Regions from separate parts of the Homo sapiens genome. Here region 2 is linked to region 1. The links are contacts of gene promoters, found by promoter capture Hi-C in blood cells and fetal thymus (Javierre and others, 2016). All regions are on one chromosome and are shown on one strand. The core of a region is centred on a gene start or on the middle of the fragment in contact, and the rest is flanking DNA. Distances in the headings are between cores, read along the strand shown.

What was found. Contacts are between HindIII fragments. The CHiCAGO score rates a contact against its expected background, and 5 or more counts as called.
Region 2: a fragment that was not itself captured here is called in contact with the fragment with the promoter of ERGIC2 in region 1 in 3 of 17 cell types (naive CD4 T cells, activated CD4 T cells and non-activated CD4 T cells); the score reaches 5.5 in naive CD4 T cells.

What each region holds. Positions count from the first base shown.
Region 1 is chr12:29,378,016-29,385,107 of GRCh38, reverse strand. It overlaps ERGIC2 (ERGIC and golgi 2), which reads left to right and starts at 3,936. Exons shown (of 14, transcript NM_016570.3): 1 at 3,936-3,993. RefSeq lists an enhancer at 4,204-4,373. The HindIII fragment of the contact is 7,270 bases long and covers 1,347-7,092 here.
Region 2 is chr12:32,745,044-32,752,135 of GRCh38, reverse strand. It overlaps YARS2 (tyrosyl-tRNA synthetase 2), which reads left to right. Exons shown (of 5, transcript NM_001040436.3): 3 at 1,262-1,417; 4 at 2,029-2,199; 5 at 4,773-5,592. The coding sequence ends at 4,932. DNM1L (dynamin 1 like) reads right to left here. Exons shown (of 20, transcript NM_012062.5): 20 at 6,486-7,092. Among named protein-coding and RNA genes, the nearest start is that of YARS2, 7.3 kb to the left of the region's middle. The HindIII fragment of the contact is 2,220 bases long and covers 1,382-3,601 here.

The DNA.
Region 1 (7,092 bases), core at 2,687-5,186:
CCCCGACTCTTCGGAGTTGGGACCATTGTTTTCCCTAGAACCAGCTTCTGCTTTTCCAGTACTTCTGGGCTGAGCCGAGGGTCGACAGAGAGGAAAGCCATGCAGCTCTGGGGTCCCGACAACAAGTTGGTTGACCCTGCGGCCATGAGCAGAACTCTCAAAAGCATGTCGCCCAAGCGAGACTCGCCCATCTATCCTATCTATCCTGACCCTTGCCCCCTGGGTCCTAATGCCTGTCAGACAAACTTCCTCTTGCCTCTCTTCTCTGAGGTTAGTCCCGCTTCTAAAAATTGCTACCGTCTCTGGTGCTTTTCTAGTTTCTCCTATAAGAATGATTTCTAGTATAAACTCCAGGACTCTGTTACCTTCTTTAGGCACCCGGGCTCACCAATCAGAAAGACATAATTTTTGCCCAAAGCCCCATCGTAGTGGGGACTACCTGGAATTTTAGGATCCCTCCTCAGACTAACAGGCCTAACAAAAGCTATTCCTGAAGCTAGGATATGGGGAGCCTCAGAAATTATATCCTTCCTATTCATATAAGTGAGGACAAAAGGTGTCACTCTTCCAAACCTGGAGATCCCTTCCCTCCCTCAGGGTATGGCCCTCCACTTCATTTTTGGGGCATAACATCTTTATAGGACAGGGGTAAAGTCCCAGTACTAACAGGAGAATGCTTAGGACTCTAACAGCTTTTCGAGAATGCGTCGGTAAGGGCCACTAAATCGATTTTTCTCAGTTGGTCCCCCTTGTGGCCTAGGAGGACAGGCAAGGGTGCAGGTTTTCGAGAATGCGTCGGTAAGGACCGCTAAATCTGACTTTCCTTGGTCCTCCATGTGGTCTGGGAGGAAAACTAGTGTTTCTGCTGCTGCGTTGGTGAGCGCAACTATTCCGATCAGCAGGGTCCAGGGACTGTTGCGGGTTCTTGGGCAGGGGTTGTTTCTGCTGCTGTGTTGGTGAGCGCAACTATTCTGATCAGCAGGGTCCAGGGACCGTTGTAGGTTCTTGGGCAGGGGGAGAAACAAAATAAACCAAAACGCGGCAGTTTTGTCTTTCAGATGGGAAACACTCAGGCATCAACAGGCTCACCCTTGAAATGCATCCTAAGCCATTGGGACCAATTTGACCCACAAACCCTGAAAAAGAGGCGGCTCATTTTTTTCTGCACTACGGCTTGGCCCCAATATTCTCTCTCTGATGGGGAAAAATGGCCACCTGAGGGAAGTACAAATTACAATACTATCCTGCAGCTTGATCTTTTCTGTAAGAGGGAAGGCAAATGGAGTGAAATACCTCATGTCCAAGCTTTATTTTCATTGAGGGAGAATACACAACTATGCAAAGCTTACAATTTATATCCCACAGGAGGATCTCTCAGCTTATCCCCATATCCTAGCCTCCCTATAGCTCCCCTTCCTATTAATGATAATCCTCCTCTAATCTCCCCTGGCCAGAAGGAAACAAGCAAGGAAATCTCCAAAGGACCACAAAAAACCCCGGGCTATTGGTTATGTCCCCTTCAAGCTATAGCGGGAGGGGTATTTGGCCCAACCCGGGTACATGTCCCCTTCTCCCTCTCTGATTTAAAGCAGATCAAGGCAGACCTGGGGAAGTTTTCAGATGATCCTGATAGGTACACAGATGTCCTACAGGGTCTAGGCAAACCTTTGACCTCACTTGGAGAGATGTCATGCTACTGTTAGATCAAACCCTGGCGTTTAATGAAAAGAATGCGGCTTTAGCTGCAGCCCAAGAGTTTGGAGATACCTGGTATCTTAGTCAAGTAAATGACAGAATGACAGCCGAAGAAAGGGACAAATTCCCGACTGGTCAGCAAGCCATCCCCAGTATGGATCCCCACTGGGACCTTGACTCAGATCATGGGGACTGAAGTCATAAACATCTGTTGACCTGTGTTCTAGAAGGACTAAGGAGAATTAGAAAAAAGCCCATGAATTATTCAATCGAACTAGAGAAAGAAAAAAATGGCACAAAAACACCTTTTGATCATCTTTACTAAATACAGGTTGTTATGGAACAATTATTAATCTCAGTCTAAAACCTATCTTATGCGGGTAATACATAATGGACTTTTTAAAGCAAATTGTTTTTCAGACATAACGCCACTGATAACACAAGATTAAGTATCTATCTCTTTTTAAAGATGATCCTGATAGGTACATAGATGTCCTACAGGGTCTAGGGCAAACCTTTGACCTCGCTTGCAGAGATGTCGTGCTACTGTTAGATCAAACCCTGGCCTTTAATGAAAAGAATGCGGCTTTAGCTGCAGCCCGAGAGTTTCAATCTTCAGGGGAAATTAAGTTCCCTCTTCACTGGGTAGATTAGAAAATGGTGAGTTGTTTTCTAAATAAGAAGGATCAAATTAGTCAGTTTTGCTACACTGGGAAATCCAACTCTCATGGGATAGTTGTTACCCTGAAAGTAGGTTATCCAGGAGATGAGGGATCAGATGTAACTAAGTGAACAACAGCCAGCCTCCATCCAAGCAAGAGCCCATATTCACAAAGAAGGAAGAGTTGCTGATGCCTTTACGGCAAAGATTAAAAAAAGGCATTTTAGATGTATATTAATTTACTTAATCCTCGTAACAACTCTGAGATATTATCATGCCCATTTTACAGATGAGCAAATGGAGACACAAAGAGATGAAATAATGTGGTCAAGGTTACATGCTAGTAAGTTGCTGATCTGGAATTCTAACCCAGGAAGTCCTGTCTCCAGTGTCTATGATTTCACCCACTACACTATACTTCTTAAGCATGTCAAGAAAGTGAGAACTTTAAATTGATTTAATTAGACTAACTCTGAAAGTCTGAAAATAAAATTGATTCATTGGAAACTTTTCATCAGTCCTTATTTTGGGGGATATTCAATTTAGTGAAATTTAGTATTTCAGTAAAGGTTAATTCACTACATAAAACAATGTGATTTTTTTCCTTTGAGGCACAGTTTAGTATTGTGATCAAGATTTCCCTGACTCTCCCAGCGGTCTGAATTTGGGTAAATCACTTCACTACCCCTTGACTCAAATTCCGTATTTATAAAACAGGTAAATACTGGTATTATCTTCTAAGAGTGTTGTGAGGATACGCAGATTTTTTAAAAAAGCAGTTAAAGCCTTTAAACAGTAATTATAAGCAGTTGTCATAATTATGCCGTTGTTAGACTTCTAGGTCAATGAATCAGAAAATTTAAATCTCAATGTTTGATTATAAAATCTGGTAACAGATGGGTGAAAAGGAACCTGGAATGGGTTTACTCTCCAGGAGTTCACATTTAACTTTTCTTTCCGAAGTTCCGTCTATTAACTCCTGTTCTATGAAGTGGTAGAAAAAGATGAGGTATTAATTTTCTTTCTTAACAAATATTTGAAGGCATAGTTGGTGTTGGCGAAGGGAGATGAGGAAGACATATGTGCTTTCTTATGATATTAAAACCTGGAAGACAATAAAAACGCTGATCAAATAATAAAAAGCGTTACCTATGGCGGAAAAGGAAGCTCAAATGTTCTTGTCAGGGGAAAACGACACAAAAACTGAAAGAGGGAAACAAAACAATTGCACAGGTGATATGCATTAGGGTTGTTAGGGATAATTTCTGCGCCCAAGGCTCTTATTAGTAATGAAATACGGTGTGAGGAGCTGAGATTCGTTCTGCAGTCTCAGTGTTAGTCGGAAAGTAACCCCTCCCTTCCCATAGAAACAGAACCGGACTGGCGGCGCGATTACACCTAAAACAAGTTGCAACCTCATTTCCCTGTAGGCACGCCTCTTTTATCTTAACCACGCCTCTTCATTCCCTAAGCACGTCGTAAGCAAAGGGAATATCGCGAGATCTGTACATTGTCTCTTTTCTGACGTTTTCAGCTGTGATAGTCGCTTTTGTTCTCGCGATATTTCCGGGTACGCGGGAGCCCCGGCGACCCGGGCTTCTGTGAAACATGGCGGTAGGCTGGGACCATAACACAAGGTAAAATACTGAAACACCGCTGGGTGCTGTTCCCTCGGTTGTTCCAGGGCTGTTTAGGGCGTAAATGCAATTGAGGGAACTGGGAGCCTGTCATGGGCTTGGCTTCCTGTCTTCATTGATCTCTAGAGAGCCGGTCGGACGGAGAAGCCGCTCCACCTCCCACGGGGGCGTTACTGGCAGGACCCTAGGCAACGATGCTACTGGGAGCTTCCCTTTGCCAGGTCCGGGTGCTTGTGTGCTATCCTGCAACTCGAAGGAGTTCAGGTGCTTCCTCGATCGCACCTGATTCTGACCCTTTGCTTGTCACAGTGCCCGGTTCCCAGGTGGTTTCTCCAGTCCGCAGGCGAGTAGGATCCCAATCGGTCGAGTCCCAGTCCTCCCGGATGTCAGACTCCCTACCCCCATTCAGACAAATGCCACATTCGTGGCAGCACGTTGCCCTCTGTCTCTTTAAGAGTCTTGGCCTTGCCCGGAAGGAGTTTCGCACAGTGCTTCGGAAAATGAGAAGGGGGCGGGGGAGGGCGAGATGCTGAGAGACAGGTTCGACTGTCACTACTTTTCCTCGGCGCAGGAAACCTTCCGAAGGCAACGTGTCAACTCGTGGTGGAGAATAGCCTTGTTTATCTGTAGTATATAGAGTTGACAGGTCATTGTTTGAGAAAACACGTTTAAATAACTTTTATATTTTAGTGCCCCCGAGACTTAAAGACAAAGTGGCATAATAGCTGTTAAAATGTTGCCAGACTGGTTTTCAGAAGCAATGAAAGTTACAGTTAAAAACAGGATTTATTCATTTGAAGTTGTAATTCAGTATTTCAGTTAATTGCCTAGCCTGATACATTGGACTCCAGTATACAGCAATTATAAAGAATGAGCCTGGCTTGTTCACTGAAAAAAGACATGGTTATTTACCTAATTTGTTTGTTGATATCTTTAAGTTGTTGTAATTATGCCAGTTCTAGTGGAAAACATGAGGAAAAAAATTCTGATTTTTTGGGAGGGTGGGGGTTGGCGGTGCAGGGATGGATAGAGAGAGGAGGATTTTTTTTTTTTTTTTAAATGATGGTGAACTTTAGTATACAGTTGCGTGTTATAATGGCTTCCTGGTACAAATCATAAAAATATATCAAGTTTGAAAGATCTCTCAAAGGAAATCAGGCCTAGTCTGGAACAACGAGAGTTAGGGAAACAACAACAACCACCCACACATTTTCTTTCTTTGGGGATTGATGATTTAAGTGAAAGAAATGGCTATTTTTTTTTTCTTTACCAGAAGTTACTTTTAGGCAGTCAGTGCCTGCTAAAAATCCTATTTAATAGTTTCCCAATATTTATTGTAATTCTGCCTCTTAATGTCATAGTGGTCAAATTATTTAACCTCTCTGTGCCTTAGTTCCTTCATCGGCCAAATGAAATAATGATACTTAACTCATAGGAAGGTTGTGAGGATTGAATGTGTTGAAACATACAAAGCATTTAGAACAATACCTGGCACACAGTAAACACTCAATGCATGTTAGCTCTTGTTATTTTTTATTTTCATTTTCTAACATCTGTAGTTACAAATGTTGCCTTGTTACTTAGTCAAAATGTAGACTGAAGAAGATATTGTTTAAAATAATATCTTTCTGAACTCCAGATTGATTAAACACTCTGATTGGTGTGGTTAATGTGTCCTTAAACTCCCATTATCCAGTTGCTTGTTTTCTTAAATTATTATCCTCTTTTAATGACTAAAGCATAAGTTCTTCCTTTCTATTGCTCTATATAGTCACGTTGTAGTGTGGCTCAGATCTACCCTCTGAGTGCCTTATTAACCCCCATACTCTTTGCTTTTGAGAACATTCATTCTATTGTAAATATATTTCATGTGTCCCTGACCTTTTCCTTAATACTTTTTAACTTTAATTTTCTATACTTTTATTGAGAGCTACTATAGTCTAGTTGTTCTTTGAGGAGGATTATACTTGTCCTTGCTTCACATTGCTACTAGGCACTTTTAAGGTTATTCTGTTATCACTCTATAGTCTCTCTTAACTTTTAGTCTTATCAGTTTATGCCATCCTAACTTCAGGAGATTGTCAACTAACCTCACATACTCTCCCACTTTCCTCAAAGACTTTAACAACTAAATCTCAAATATCCTACAAATCTTTGCTTTTTTTCAGAGAATTAGAAATAGATATTACATGCCTCATTTTTATCTTAACACTGTGAGGTAGCCATTATGTCCTGCTGCCCATCTTTTAAAATAAAATTATGGAGAGAGGATTCTAAGAAGTTGAGTATCTTTCCACACTTGTCACACAACTAGTAAGTGCCTAGGTAATCAGGGTTTTCTGATTATAAACTCACATTTATATTGTCTTCCTTGGCTTCCAAGTAAACCTTTCTGTCACTTAGAATGTCATTAGGTTTATTTGAATTATGTTGGGGTAAACAAACATAATATTTAACTCTGTTGTAAAAGGTCCAAATTTTAAGGTAAAAATAAGTACAATTGAGGGGGTTGGGGGGTTGCTATCTAGTATTTGCAAAGTAAAGCTAAGCTATCTTATAAAATGTTTTTTATTGTAAAGTATTCTAATGCAATATAATCAAGTAATTTAAAATTACAGATAGGTTGTAGTTTTACCTTTTATTTCTGATATTCAGCGATGGCCTGAATTATATTGCCTGTATTAGTTGCCTGGGGCTGCTGTAACAACTTACTATAAGCTGGGAGGCTTAAAACAAAAGAAATTTATTCTCTCACAGTTCTGGAGGCTAGAAGTCTGAAATCAAGGTGTCAGCAAGACTTGAAGACTCTAGGAAAGAATCCTTCTTTGACTCTTCCTGGCTTCTGGGCAATCCTTGCTATGCCTGGGTTTGTAGACACATCACTGTAGTCTCTGCCTTTGTTTTCACATGGCATTTTCCCTTGTGTTTCTCTGTGTCTTCACATGGCCTTCTTAAAAGGACACCAGTCTCAGATTTTGGAGCACCCTGATCCAGTATGATCTCATCTTAATTAGTTATATCTGAAAGACTCAAATATTTCCAAATAAGGCCCATTCATAGATACCAGAGGTTGAGACTTCAACATATCTTGTTCAACGT
Region 2 (7,092 bases), core at 1,242-3,741, 3.4 Mb before region 1:
TTGTTAGGTGATTTCATCATTGCAAATATCGTAGAGTGTCCCTGCACAAACATAGATAGCATAGCCTACTACACACTTAGGCTATACAGTGTACCCTGTTGCTCCCAGGGTAGAAGCACATACAGCACATTACTGTACTAAATACTGAAGGCAGTGATAACGCGAGGGTAAGTATTTGTATACGTAAACATAGAAAAAGTACAGTAAACTATGGTATTATAATGTTATGAACCACTGTTGGACTGTACCAGTCCGTGGCCTGTTAGGAACAGGGCTGCGCAACAGGAGCTGAGTGGCAGGCGAGCGAGCATTACACCTGGGCTCCATCTCCTGTCAGATCCACGGTTGCATTAGATTCTCATAGGAGCACAAACCCTATTGTGAACTGCGCATGCAAGAGATCTAGGTTGCGCATTCCTTTTGAGGATCCAACAAATGCCTGATGATCTGAAGTGGAACAGTTTCATTCTGAAACCACCTCCCCTCCCCGCCGCCTCGTGGTGCCAAAAAGGTTGGGGACCGCGGATATATGTAGTCCATCATTGACAGAAACATCATTATGCAGAGCATGATGATTTATATCAGTTTTTAAAATTACACAGTACTTTTTTTTTATGGCCACATGCACATGAAAGTATAAAAACATGCTTGGGAAAGATGGCAGCACATAAACTTAGATTTATGATTATCTCGGGGCAAGGAAGGGAATGTGATTGGACTGCGGCCTTCATCTATGCCTATTTTGTTCCTTTTAAAAAGAAAATACGAGGCTGGGCTTGGTGGCTCCTGCCCATAATCCCAACACTTTGGGAGGCTGAGACAAGAGGATCACTTGAGCCCAGGAGTTTGAGACCAGCCTGGGCAACACAGGAGACCCCGTCTTTACAAAAAAAATATAAAAATTAGCCAGGCGTGGTGGCACAAGCCTGTGGTCCCGGCTGCTTGGGAGGCAGAGGTGGTAGAATTGCTTGAGCCCAGGAGGTTGAGGTTACAGTGAGCCATGATCATGCCACTGCACTCCAGCCTGGGCAACAGCAAGACCCCCATCTCAAAAAAAAAAAAAAGAAATTGAAAACAAAGATGCCAAAATAGTAACACCTTAAATCTGGGTGATGTGTGCATGGGACCTACTATGTTCAGTACATTTCTGTATGTTTGTTTCATATTTAAAAGTAAGCAGGATAACCTTAAAGGGTAGAAGAGCTGGAGATAAAAATTAGGTATGTTATATAAGTGTAACTCTTTATTTTTTGTCTCAAAGGTACCTGAAGCTGTTCACTTTCCTGCCCCTTCCAGAGATTGATCATATCATGCAGCTGCATGTCAAAGAGCCAGAAAGGCGGGGTCCTCAGAAACGACTGGCAGCAGAAGTAACAAAGCTTGTTCATGGACGAGAAGGATTGGATTCTGCTAAAAGGTAGTAGTTTAGTATGATTAACACTTGATAGTTAGTTATTCAGTGGATAGACATGAGAAAAGTAGGAGTATGTTTTAGGATTATCTTGTCATTTATCACAAGGACTGTCAGTATTTGACTTAGCAATTTAAAATAGCCCCTGTTTATTGGAAAGAAGGATTATCTTGAATTAAGTTTATGAATTATACCAGATAGATGTTTAAAAAACTTTTAGTCTATGCCGGGCGCGGTGGCTCACGCCTGTAATCCCAGCACTTTGGGAGGCCAAGGTGGGCTGATCACGAGGTCAGGAGTTCGAGACCAGCCTGACCAACATGGTGAAACCCCCATCTCTACTAAAAATACAAAACTTAGCTGGGCGTGGTGGCACACGTCTGTAATCCCAGCTACTCAGGAGGCTGAGGCAGGAGAATCGCCTGAACCCGGGAGGCAGAGGTTGCTGTGAGCCGAGATCATGCCATTGCAATCCAGCCGGGGCAACAGAGCGAGACTCCATCTCAAAAAAAAACTTTTAGTCTAGAACTTGGACACTCTATAATTGGTTAATGGGTATTAGAACATGTATTTGAATAAACATTTATATGATGTAGCTCTTAAAATGTGTTTTTCAGGTGTACACAAGCCCTTTATCACAGTAGCATAGATGCACTGGAGGTCATGTCTGATCAGGAGTTAAAAGAGTTGTTTAAAGAAGCTCCATTTTCTGAATTTTTTCTCGATCCTGGAACAAGTGTCCTAGATACTTGCCGCAAAGCAAATGCCATTCCAGATGGTCCCCGAGGGTAAGATTATTTAACTTTTAGATTTACAGTTAATTCACCATTAAATGTTACAGTTCACAAGGCCAGGAGAAGTGGCTCATGCCTGTAATCACAGCACATTGGGAGGCCGAGGCGGGCAGATCACGAGGTCAGGAGATCGAGACCATCCTGGCTAACACGGTGAAACCCTGTCTCTACTAAAAATACAAATTAGCCGGGCATGGTGGCAGGCGCCTGTAGTCCCAGCTACTTGGGAGGCTGAGGCAGGAGAATGGCATCAACCCGGGAGGCAGAGCTTGCAGTGAGCGGAGATCCCACCACTGCACTCCAGCCTGGGTGACAGAGCAAGACTCTGTCTCAAAAAATAAATAAAATGTTACAGTTCACAGCATGTGTTTCCAGAGAGGATGTTTTCCTGATAGTGCTTTAGTGGCATCTCTTCCTTAGAAAAGTTAGTTTAGTCCAAGAATAAAGTATAGCCTGAGAGTACTTATTGTTGAAAATACTTTATATTTTCTATAATAGTACAGTACTCCTATACTGTCTCTTATTATATCTAACCCAGTCAGTCTTTCCTCCAACACTGGAAAAGTGCATTTGAGGGACATGTTCAGTAAATACACTGGCATCAGTGTACGGCTTAGGGATATGGTCACAGTTTTAGAGGGATGCAGAAACAGAGGCCCTATGTAACAGATTAACACAGCCCCTCTCATAGTCTGTATCCTTTTTATATTCGGGGATGGGAAAGGTTACCTAACCTATCTATAGTATTAACTGAATTTCTGAAAATGAAATGAGCATATAATGGCCAAAACCGCAAGTACTTTTGCACTAACCTACTAACGTCATAAGACTATTATTGTAAACTATATAATAATCCCCTTGAGAATTGCATTTTCTATTCAGGAATTGAGTAGAATATTTTAATTAATCAGTTATGAGGTATTAAGGAGTAAATAAGGTTTTTCACAAAAAATAATTCAGCATATAATTGATGCTTATCCATTTTTAAATGAACAGTGAGGTGGAAGGAAAAGTGTTGGGTAGCCAGAAGACCCCCAGGTGCCTCTTTTGCAGGAGTTCACACAGAAGTCAAATGGTTATCGGCCATATCATGGCCATGATTATGAATGACATTTGTTATAGTTGTTCTCTTTCAACTGTCTTGGATTGTTTGCCTGTGTCCTAAAGAGTCCTAGACTATTCTGCCTGGAAAAAGCACCCATTGTCTCCCTTTGCATCACCTGCCACTCCACCTTAGTGATTCCCTCATCTGCTGGTTTAACACACAGTGAATTTGAGGCTGGTGTCATATACTTCCCTGTAGTATGTCAGCGAGACAAATAATTTTCCTCACTATGGAAGCAGATTTCGTTTTCTTCTGAACTTTACTATAGTGTGTTCGCTAATACTGGAAGCTTTACCACTACTAAAAATGACACCACATCTGATTTAGCCAGGGCTCTAAGTAATACTGATTTTTTTTTTTAATATTATATAAGCTAAATAGGTTTGGTGCATTTAAATTAAACATAGAACATGATCTGGAAACTAGCAGACAGCGTAAAATAATACTTCCTAAAAGAAAGGAATCTGGCCTTAAGTAGAAAATATTTTACTGATGAGTTTTATAAAACCATGTCCATGGCCAGGTATGGTGGCTCACATTTGTAATCCCAGCACTTCGGGAGGCTGAGGGCGGGAGGATTGCTTGGGGCCAGGAGTTCAAGATCTGTGTGGGCAAGGACGTAGTGAGACTCCGTCTCTACCCAAAAATAAAGGTATAAAAATATCTTTAAAACCATGTCCAGTAGTGGTTTCTTAATTTTATTTGGTAACATTCAGATGAGAGAAAACCACCATTTTTCTTTCTTAAGGACTTCCAAGATCTAGCCACGCTGTAGCCCTGTCTTCTCAGATCTCACCTCTTTCTAGCTGCTCCCATGTTTCCTGCCCTGATTGTCAAGGTAGCTTCACTCCCAGTTTAAGTATCTCTTTTTTCAGTGAAATGTTCAGCCCTCACCTACCCAGTGTGCTCCTAGAACAACTTCTCCTAGGTCTTTCTTTTTTTTTCTTGAGACGGAGTCTTTAAAAGAGCAGATTGCAAGGCGTAAATTCCGGCCAGACACAGTGGTTCACACCTGTAATCCCAGCACTTTGGGAGGCCAAGGCAGGTGGATCACTTGAGGTTGGGAGTTTGAGACCAGCCTGGCTAACATGGCGAAACCCATCTCTACTAAAAATACAAAATTAGCCAGGTGTGGTGGCATGCACCTGTAATCGCAGCTACTCTGGAGGCTGAGGCAGGAGAATCACTTAGAACACAGGAGGCGGAGGTTGCAGTGAGCTGAGATCATGCCAGCCTGGGCTACAGAGCAAGAATGTGTTTCAAAAACAAACAACAAAAAACAAAGAGCAGTAAAGAGAGGCAGAATCTATTAATAATAGAGCAAACATGAAGGTAACAGTCCAGTGCCAAATGAAATCTTCTCAATTGGAGAGCCTCTGAAATCTAAGTGAAACAGTCTTTTTTGGGGGACAGATCAACAGTGATTGGATCTCTCTACTTACTAAACGTTTCTATTTTTTAGGTATCGAATGATAACAGAAGGCGGAGTCAGCATAAATCACCAACAAGTAACAAATCCTGAGAGTGTTTTAATTGTTGGACAACATATTCTCAAGAATGGACTTTCCTTACTTAAAATAGGAAAAAGAAATTTCTACATTATAAAATGGCTTCAGTTGTGATGAAAAGTCCTTCTGGTTGTCCAAATAAACTTACCCATCATTCATTCTCAAGACCTCTGAAGGGTTGGCTCCAGAACTTAGACCTTTGCTTATGCAAATCAGAAAAACAGAATGGACTAGGACTCAGTGTGAGTAACTTCATTATTTTTATGGGCCGGTTAATAAATATTTGTTTAATAATGGGATGTTTTATTTTCTGATGTACAAAGCTTGATTACCATAGAAAACCATGATTTTCAGGGTTAATCTCTTTTTAAAATTATACTTCAGAAGAGAAAGAAATGCTGCTTTCCTATCTTACCCTTCCTGCTCTCCTTTTTGTAGTGATGAGGAACAATGAAAAAGAGGTAGTGTAAGGAATTGTGAGGCTGGGCATGGTGGCTCACACCTGTAATCCCAGCACTTCGGGAGGCCAAGGTGGGCAAATCGCTTGAGGCCAGGAGTTTGAGACCAGCCTGGCCAACAGGGCGAAACCCCGTCTCTACTGAAAATATAAAAATTAGCCAGATGTGGTTGCAGGCACCTGTAACCCCAGCTACTCAAGAGGCTGAGCTGCGAGAATCACTTGAACCCAGGAGATGGAGGTTGCAGTGAGCTGAGATCACGCCACTGCACTCCAGCCTGGGAGACAGCATGAGTAGTGAGTGAAACTCTGTCTCAAAAAAAAAAAAAAAAAAAAGGAATTGTAGCTGCTTTTCTATCAGGTATGGAGCACCGATGTCACTAATGTTATATAGTTGTTTATAAAATCATCAGGGCCTCTAGTGTCCACATTAGAAATGGGAAAACTAGTATTAGAAACTTTGAATAGAAATTTGATTTTTTTGTAGTTCAGAGAGCAAATGTAGTTCTTAAAAAGGAGAAAAAGTTAGATGAGGCCATGGTTGCTTTGAGAAATTACAGTAAGTAGTTTCTTTACAAATAATAGTACAAAAATCAGTACGTGACTTTTCAGAAAGTTTCTAATTCAGTTTTCTGGTTCCTTGCCTGTGTTCCAGTATAATTCTGTTCACATTAAGCCTTGTTGTCAGTGGATTCCTAAGGTAGCAATGTTTTATAAATTTAGAAACTTAAATTGGTTTTAAGTTTCAGCTTTTCCCCCCAAGCAGATTGCAACTTGAGGTAAATTAAAAAGTTAACCCCCCAAAAATAAAGCCAATTATACCAAATATGCAATCATATGAGAATATCAAAAAGTATCCAGGTAAGGAAAGTTTTCAGGTCAAACTTAAAGGATTTGGAATCAAGACTGAGTTCAGCTCTTCAAACATGAGGCAAATTAATTCTCCAGAACTATTTCCATATCTGAAAAATCAAGGCAATGGCATCCCTGTTGCCTTGAGGATCAAGTGAATCACATACGAAATGATTAATCAGATTTCTTTTGAAAACCTTACAGGCAGCAGAGCATGGCTTTAGTGTTCAAATTCTAGCCATTTACTACCTGGATTACTTGGAGCAAGTCACTGTCTTCATACGCAAAAATGGAGATGTTATAATACCTTGGTGAACTGTCAGAATCTGGTAGGAAAAAAGTCGTAAAATTTTTCGTACTCTATACGGTTATGTTCCAAAGTAGATTAGGTATTAAAAAGCTCCTTTTGTCTCCCTTTCTCTGGGAGAAAAGTTAAGAATTCATTTTTTGACAAACTTTAGTGTCATTTCATACCAGCAATTTTATTTACACAATAAGAACATACAGGTATCGTCAGAGATCATCTCTACATTTCAGATCTTGACTCAGTTTAAGGGCCAACAAAGGAAGGCTTTTCTCTTTCCGTTGTTTCTTGCCTCTGTTTTTTGTTGTACAAAGTGTGTAGTACTAGCAAGTGCATTACCATAGCATGTCTTTAATTTTCAATTTGAAATCTGATGTGCTGGAGAAAAGTGCATCGTAAGTTTTTGTTTTTGTTTTTTTTCCCCTTACAAATTCAAAGGACTAGAATAATGATAGTCATCTGGAAAAAGTAAATCATGAATGGCTATAATTTTGAAACTGATGCTTAATGATGGCAGTGATTTTTAAGTGTGGTAACAAACGTTTTGGGAGCATGTATCCTCTGTCAAGATGGTACTAGTAACAGATTCAAAGTAGTACCATATCGTATCAGACTGATGTGGGGGTTTTTATGTTTGACATCAGTTGGTGAGCCTGTTGTT